2 separate regions of the Homo sapiens genome follow, and region 1 is linked to region 2. The links are contacts of gene promoters, found by promoter capture Hi-C in human tissues and cell types (Jung and others, 2019). All regions are on one chromosome and are shown on one strand. Each heading gives the region's core, a stretch centred on a gene start or on the middle of the fragment in contact. The rest is flanking DNA. Distances are from core to core; before and after follow the strand shown. Region 1 overlaps COPS2 (COP9 signalosome subunit 2). Region 2 holds the start of SLC27A2 (solute carrier family 27 member 2).

Evidence for each region. Contacts are between HindIII fragments. The study calls those that stand out against the background at their distance.
Region 1: a fragment that was not itself captured here is called in contact with the fragment with the promoter of SLC27A2 in region 2 in 1 of the 25 tissues and cell types used here (lymphoblastoid cells).

Annotation. Positions count from the first base shown.
Region 1 is chr15:49,124,663-49,128,581 of GRCh38, forward strand. It overlaps COPS2 (COP9 signalosome subunit 2), which reads right to left. Exons shown (of 13, transcript NM_004236.4): 13 at 1-3,432. The coding sequence ends at 3,288. Among named protein-coding and RNA genes, the nearest start is that of COPS2, 29 kb to the right of the region's middle. The HindIII fragment of the contact is 3,555 bases long and covers 1-3,486 here.
Region 2 is chr15:50,179,878-50,183,867 of GRCh38, forward strand. SLC27A2 (solute carrier family 27 member 2) reads left to right here and starts at 2,319. Exons shown (of 10, transcript NM_003645.4): 1 at 2,319-3,028. The coding sequence starts at 2,551. It also overlaps a transcript of ATP8B4 not described here. RefSeq lists silencers at 2,211-2,550, 2,821-2,920. The HindIII fragment of the contact is 4,473 bases long and covers 1,425-3,990 here.

The DNA of each region.
Region 1 (3,919 bases), core at 459-2,958, 1.1 Mb before region 2:
AATGTTTATCTTCTTCAAAATGCTAGAAATATTTAGTCATAAATCCCATATGAAGAATGAAACTCCCAGCTTTACTTGTGTATGCTCAAGCCTCACTTCAAAAATCTAAATCAAAAGAGAAATTTTCAGGTTTAAAAGTGACTAAAATAATATTTTAAAAAATCCTTAGTAAATTAATGATTACAGATCTCTGAGCTTCTTAAAAAGAGGTAAAGGGAATCCACTAGGCAAATAATTTTTTGTCTTATGGACTAACTGCTTCACCCATAGATTTAGACTGACACTGACACCACAAAAGCATACATACCTGTGTTTACTGAAGAACTGTAACTATTGATTAAAAAAGAAAATTTCCCACAAAATTTCTACCATCATGGATATTTTAAATATTAAGAATAAGAGTTTTTCAGTCTAAGACAAACCTAAGTCTTACATAAGGTAACAAACACTACCACCCACAGTATAGCTCATTTAAAATAGGCCTCACTTAAATATTAGGTTCTCAGTTTTCCTGAAAGATGTATCAGCCTGTAGTTAGAAGGGACTCATGTAATGAGAGCATTACTTAGTACATATATACTCATCTTTAAAAAGAAATCAGTTATGTTACATTAAGATGTAGAGAAAAAGTATTTAATCAACAACTTTAATGTAAGAGCAAGAGTGAGTAATGGAAATCCAGCTCTTGTAGTAGAGAGCATCTACTTGTGGCAGCCAAAGATTTCTTTGCAGTAACTTTTAGCTAGGTTTAGGGATAAAAAGAAGAATGAGATGAACACATTACAATATGATGTAAACCACTGGTATGGTTTTCACAAAAGTGGAAAAGATTTAATCAGTGAATAAATGCTACAAATTTGCCAATCGATTTTTAACTTCCCCTAAATTTATATTTCGATAAGCAATCTCTAAGATTTCAACTCTACAATATTTGATGCACAAAAACACAGAAAAATGTTTTAAGGGAAGAATAAATTATTTTAAGTTAGTCAGACTGTTAAGATATATTTAAAAACCTGTATTCCAGAACAAAAGTCACAGATGACTAACAGAAAAAAAAGAACGCACCTATATCTGGGTAAACAAAGCTATGTAATACACAATTACAATAAATTATTATGGTATAACTTTGGATACTGTTATATATTTAGCCCAGTTTTCCAAATAACAAGTGCATGCTTTCTCTCTAGAAAGTGGAAGATGCACTATTGTACAAAGCAAAGATAGCACAGGAGAACTGGGCACTGTAAGAATTGGAGGATAAAGGTTAAATCATTTCATTCAAATCTTTGAATTCTAATTCCATCAACTCAAAAGTTAAGAAGGGCTTTAGCTTTCAAGGGTTATCACATGCATACATATTTGAATACAGGCACAAAAACTCATCATTTTTATTTGGATAACAAAGGGTCTCCAAATTATATTGAAAAATAAATCCTAATTAATATCACTCTTGTAAAAAAAGTTTAGCACACTTTTCACAAATGATTTATGTAAAAGAGAAAATACACATAATTTTATAATATCTTAAACTTTTATTCCCTACCATAGACATTTTGTCTTTTGTTTTCTTTCCGTTTTCTACAATTTCCAACTTGTACCTGTGTTTAATACTGCTTTAGTCTGCTAAAGACATTAACTGATTGCTTTTCTAAATCTAAGGATTATATATTTTTAGTATAAATATATATCACATATTTTCGTAAAATTTTGACAAAACCGAATAAGCATGCCTTGTTTTAAGTCCATGCTCCTTCCACTGTTTATAAAATCTGATTTAATGATCAAAAAATTCTTGGTTGTCACTCTTCTGTAACCACAATCTTCCTTCTGAACTGCCACCCAGTTTTTACATAATAATAACAAGCAATAGAAAAACCAAAGAAATTATGTTAATCCTAGTTCTTCCTTTCGACACTATAAAATAATGTGAACTTTTTAAAAAATGAAACAAATACATCCAAAACTCAATACATTCAAATGAGCTGAGTTCCTTTAAGGTAGTTACCTTGGAAGGCCACAGTTCATTCTCCTAAGTATACTGCCACTGCTCAAAAAACCTTTAAAACTCTTTTGGGATTGCCTTCAAAGCCAGTTATATACTTTCTGCATTACCTCAAAGTTAGGTGGAAGTTTTGGAAACTTTCATTTGGTGCCAAGTAATGGTAACTAAAAATAATCAAGCTTCCTAATACTATATTTTTTAAAACAATGTATAATCATAAAGTTTAGTGTGTGTGACAAATTAACTTTGAATGCAATTCTAAAAGAGTAAACTCAGCAGGTTTTGGGCAATGGTAGATTGCTGGCATTAGGAAATAACCTTCCAGCATGATCACTATGCAGAGTAACATTCATTTAGCTGTCTATGTTCTGGCATATTCGTTTAAAGTGAACATTCTGAGAGTTAGTATTCTTTTGAAAAGGAATATCACTCTTTAAAAAAAAAGAATTTTATTCCTTTAAAGCATCACTGTCATAACTATGCACGTGTTTTGTTAGAAAGTAGTTCTCCTTACTCTATCAATAAAGACTACTTTTAAAAACTTGAAAGCAAATAACCAACTTATTTGCCCCCAGGCTTTTTAAAATCATTAACTGAAGATAAAATAATTTGAAATTTCGAAGGTACTAAAAAACAAAACAACTCCAAATGTAATAAAAACACATCAAGAACCAAACTACAATTTCTGAGCTGCACTGTTTATTTTGCTGCTTGAAACCTAAGTGACAGTATGCCACTATAATTATGGGGTTTCGTCTAAACCTTTACTACACTGCAGGTACAGAAATATACGGACACATTTTTAGAGAATTGACATTTTGCAAAATGCAGCAAACATTTTAATTTATACATGAGAAAAGGAAGTGTTCAAAAGGGTATGCATTTCAAGTTATTGCAGGTTATTTGTGAGAGAATTTCTGCAGGTAAAACATGTTTAAATTTAACCAACAGTAGCGTGTCAGTGTATTTAAAATCATGACAAAAATCTTCTCTCTGGTCATGTTGCCCATGACAAATTACTATGATGTTGTACGTTTAGGGCAAGATGTCAATACAGCATAAATCCCATGGTATTTTGGTTTTCTTCTGGAGATTAAAGCTGTTTTTCTTGGGATAAATGCAGCAGCAAAACACAAACCAGTTGATCAAAAAAGCACTTCTGCCATAACTCCAATAATTTTCAGGACACATCAACCGACAGTAGTTTTGCCATTCCCAGTTCTTTTAAGGATTACATCTCTGCACTGTTGCCTTAAGGACGTCTGTAAAAGCTTGTTCTCTGTTAAGCCAGTTTACTGACTACAGCCTGGTTGAGAGAATTTAGTTGGTTGGTCCATTTATCTAGTGCAGTATATCGTGCACCACCCCTCTTCTGATGATCCAGTTCAAGGAGTTGGTTGACTTGATCAATTCGGCCATGAATAGTGCTAGAAAGAAATAAATAAGATGTGTCTACAAAAGACTTTCATCAAGCACAGTTTCTGGATTAATGTTTCATAAAATACAGTATCAACAAATGCCAAAAAAAAAGCAGCTGCCTACATTAAATGAGTTCAGTGTTAGTTTTAACTTCACTGTGTTATTCAAACTCTAGATAGAAACCAGATTTCAGATACTTTTCATCAGTTTCACTGAAAGACCCATAAGGCATAGATTTATCCGATTAATCAAAGGCAAGTATCACCTGTGAAGCTTTAAACAATGTACTGTTTTCAAGTAAGATACAATTTCAAAAATGTTATGTACCACATACCCTATACTTAAAAACATACATAAATACTATTCATTAAATAATTCTTTGGCTGTATATAATAAGAAATCCTTCTGAAAAATCATTTAGAACTTTTTCTGAGATGTGTTTAATACGCTCATTCATCAAAAACCATCACACATACATATATATCTCTTCTAATA
Region 2 (3,990 bases), core at 1,069-3,568:
AGCCCAAACAGACTAAGACATCTATTAACCTCGTGATAAAGCAAGAGCTGGATCCCAGGCTCAAAGCTGGAATCACTGGGACTCCCAAGGTATATATTATAGACATTTGAAAATTACTTCCCCAAATTTACTCTCCCTAACCCCACTTTTTAATAATACCGTAAAACGTTCCACAAAATGGCCTAGGTGAAATTGATTATACTCTCACCCCCATGGGTGAGCGCTGATTGGCTTAAAACAACTAGCACCTTTTTCCCCAGGACCCACAGACATTGGTTCAGAAATGGGCGCATAATCCAGTCAGGGATTTTTTTTTTTATGAGAACTCCTAAGAAAAAGATTCCTGTACTTCTCTCTGAAGTTGAGCCAGAAAGCATGTACCCCTAAGGGCTGTTGGCAGCCATCTTTGGACAAAAACCAGAGAGCCTGAATGAGAACAGAGGAGGTGCAGAGGAGAAATAGTGAAAGCAAAACTAGATCCAGGTGTCAGCATTTAAAATCCTTGATGTCTTAGCCCCGGACTCTCCAGTTACTACTTAAATTCCTGTTTCTGCTTCAGCTAGCTTGGGTCTTGTTTTCTTTTACTTGTAACTGAGGTTAAAGTGATCCTCAGAATAAGAGGGGAAAAAGTGGACCCTTGTGGTAATCTAGCACTCTGGGTAGACAGTAGCTGTTCAAGGAAAAGAGAAGAGGGGTGCAGGTGGCTACACAGAAGCGATTAGCCATCAAGGGACGAGGGTGGCATTGGGATGAAAAAGGAAGGGCTGGCTCTGAGCTTCACCATGAAAGAAGTGCACATGAGAATGGTTTCTGTCGGGCCCTCACTTTGGTTAATTCTACTGCTTTCTCCTCAGGGATGATGAAGGCCCCCAGCTCATCCCCAGGGAAATGATGCAACCAGGTAGCTGGATCAGAAATGAAAAAGTCAGGAAAAGGGAAAGGTTGCTTGCGCAGTTACTAGGGATACGAAAAGGAGGCTAAAAAACGGCAGGGGGTGGCCTGGAGGGAATGTGAAACATTTTTGTGTGTTTTACACACACCGAAAAAAAAAGAGGACATGGACAGAAACCTAGAGAATAGGAGGACAGCATAGTATAGTTACTAAGAATAAGCTAAGAGTTGGTTCCCCGGGACCAAACAGATACCATTTCCAAAACCCACGAATTACTTACCGGCTGTCTCAATTCACCTAAGCTTCCCTTTCTTGTCTGTAAATGAGCATGAAAGTGCCACCTGTATAAAATAACTCAGGCTCCCAAAATGTAACATAGGGAAGCTCCTAGCAGCGTGTCTGGGAGGAATAAGCATTATCTGTATTTATCGTATCAAATTAAGATAGAGGAACACAGGAGGACAGTAGAGGATGAAAATAAAACACTACTTAGATCCTGACCCTCCTCAGTGGCAAGTAGTGAGCATTCACTTCGTACAGAAGTAGCACTAAGGCAAATTAAAAGAAAGGTTCACATTTCCTCTAAAAGAAATGGTTTTTGAGTCATGCCAATACCACTTACTCAATGTCCTCTGTACTATACTATTCTCTGACAGAGCCACTTATTAAATGTGTGAACTGTGCTGACAACACTTGACAACTTTCAACATGAGGGAACAGCAGGATCACTTAACAGAACAAAATCGTAAAATAATGTCAAAGCTTGATTTCAGGTGGTGCGGTGTAGCACTGCTCTTCACGAAATCAGGACTCCCCCGACCAGGCAGGGCCGACTAGGTTAGAGTGTCCTGCCCTCACTCACCTGGCAGGGCTTGGGATGAGCTGGACGTGACTGCCACAGGCATTTCTGTTCAACCTTGAAGCCTTCGCTACAGGAGACCGCCTGGCAGTCGGGCTGGGAAGCAAATCTGAGAAACAAAGAGAGACCAGGCGGAAAGCCCTTGGGACCAGGAAGGAGAGATGAGATTCTGGTTTGGCAGTGGCACCTGGTACCCGCTATTAATAAATAATAGGACTGTCTGACATTTATAAGGCACTTTATCGGTAATAACAGTGTCATCTCCATAAGCCATTCTATTAGTGGTAACAAATAATAGCCCCACGCCTGCAATATCTCCTTTAATATTCCCAACGTCCGCTAAGCGCGTCTCATCACCATTTAAAGAAACCGTGGCTCCTAGAGGTAAAGTACTTCGGTCACAACGCGAGGAGGTCCAGACTTGACCCCAGACCTCCAGACTCGAGCTGGGAAGTGGCCGAGGCTCCTGGTGAGCCGCAGGGCAGCCTGCCCAGCCCCGGGAGGACCGCGTGGGAGGGCCGGGAGAGCAGGTGGCTGCCCCCCACAAGGGGGCGGGCTCAGCCGGCCAGTCCTGCCCGGAACCCCCGGCAACGCGCATACGACTACACCTGCTCCGGAGCCCGCGGCGGTACCTGCAGCGGAGGAGCTCTGTCTTCCCCTTCATCTCACGCGAGCCCGGCGTCCCGCCGCGTGCGCCCCGGCGCAGCCCGCCAGTCCGCCCGGAGCCCGCCCAGTCGCCGCGCTGCACGCCCGGGGTGAACCCTCTGCCCTCGCTGGGACAGAGGGCCCCGCAGCCGTCATGCTTTCCGCCATCTACACAGTCCTGGCGGGACTGCTGTTCCTGCCGCTCCTGGTGAACCTCTGCTGCCCATACTTCTTCCAGGACATAGGCTACTTCTTGAAGGTGGCCGCCGTGGGCCGGAGGGTGCGCAGCTACGGGAAGCGGCGGCCGGCGCGCACCATCCTGCGGGCGTTCCTGGAGAAAGCGCGCCAGACGCCACACAAGCCTTTTCTGCTCTTCCGCGACGAGACTCTCACCTACGCGCAGGTGGACCGGCGCAGCAATCAAGTGGCCCGGGCGCTGCACGACCACCTCGGCCTGCGCCAGGGAGACTGCGTGGCGCTCCTTATGGGTAACGAGCCGGCCTACGTGTGGCTGTGGCTGGGGCTGGTGAAGCTGGGCTGTGCCATGGCGTGCCTCAATTACAACATCCGCGCGAAGTCCCTGCTGCACTGCTTCCAGTGCTGCGGGGCGAAGGTGCTGCTGGTGTCGCCAGGTGAGCCCCGAGGATCGCCCTGCCCTGGCACCAGGGCTTCTCGGCGCCTTGACTGACGAGCCACAGCGTGGCATAAGGGGTTCGCAGAGGGAGGTTCAGATCGGAACTGTAGGTATAGAAAAAGGTTGGCAGTGTTTCCTTGAATCGCAAATAATGATCTTTTAGGACCACCTGTTGTGGAAGCTGATAATGTGCTAGGTTCTGTGTTAAGCACTCTACAGGCAGTGTGGTTTTTAATCCTCACAATGGGTAGGCTTTGTTATAGGACTTTTATAGATGAGACCACTGAGGTCCTGAGAGGTGAAGCCTCATGCCCAGCCATCTATCTCCAAATTCCAAGCTCTTAATCAATACTTATAACATCTGCATTAAAATGCAGAGGATCTTGAGTGCGAACTCTAGTGGATCCAGAGGGGCTCTTCTCACCTCTGCTGCTTGACTGGCTGTGTGATCATGGGAAAGTCACTTCTCCTCTCTGTCCCTTGGTTTGCTCCTCTCTAATGAGGCAGGCTTCAATGTTGCTTCCAGCTCTCAACTGCTGTTAGCATCCTGTCCCCTCCCTGCAGAACAAAGGTGACCCCACCTGATCCCCAGGGAGAAGATACTGGGGATCTGCTACAGGACCGTTGTGAGCCCCCACTGCATCTATCACAATAGTGACCCTTTCAGTTCTGTGGTTAGCTCCTGCCACATTTCAGCCAGACTTGAAACAGTAACTTAAGTGATGACAAGGTCAGGAAGTGACAGAGAACCTGTTACTCACAGGGCTGATGGCTTTCCCCTCCCAGAGAGCTTGTCTCTGCACTTGAATAAGGACCAAGGGTTCCTTCTCTCAGTCAGTAAGAAGAGGCCTACACAGGAGTGGGCTGAAAGACCTGGGTGACAGGGTAGGGGTCGAGGGAGCCGAGGAGCCTCAGCTTTCTAGAATGCATTTCTGTGCTAAGCCCTATAGTAGATGCTTT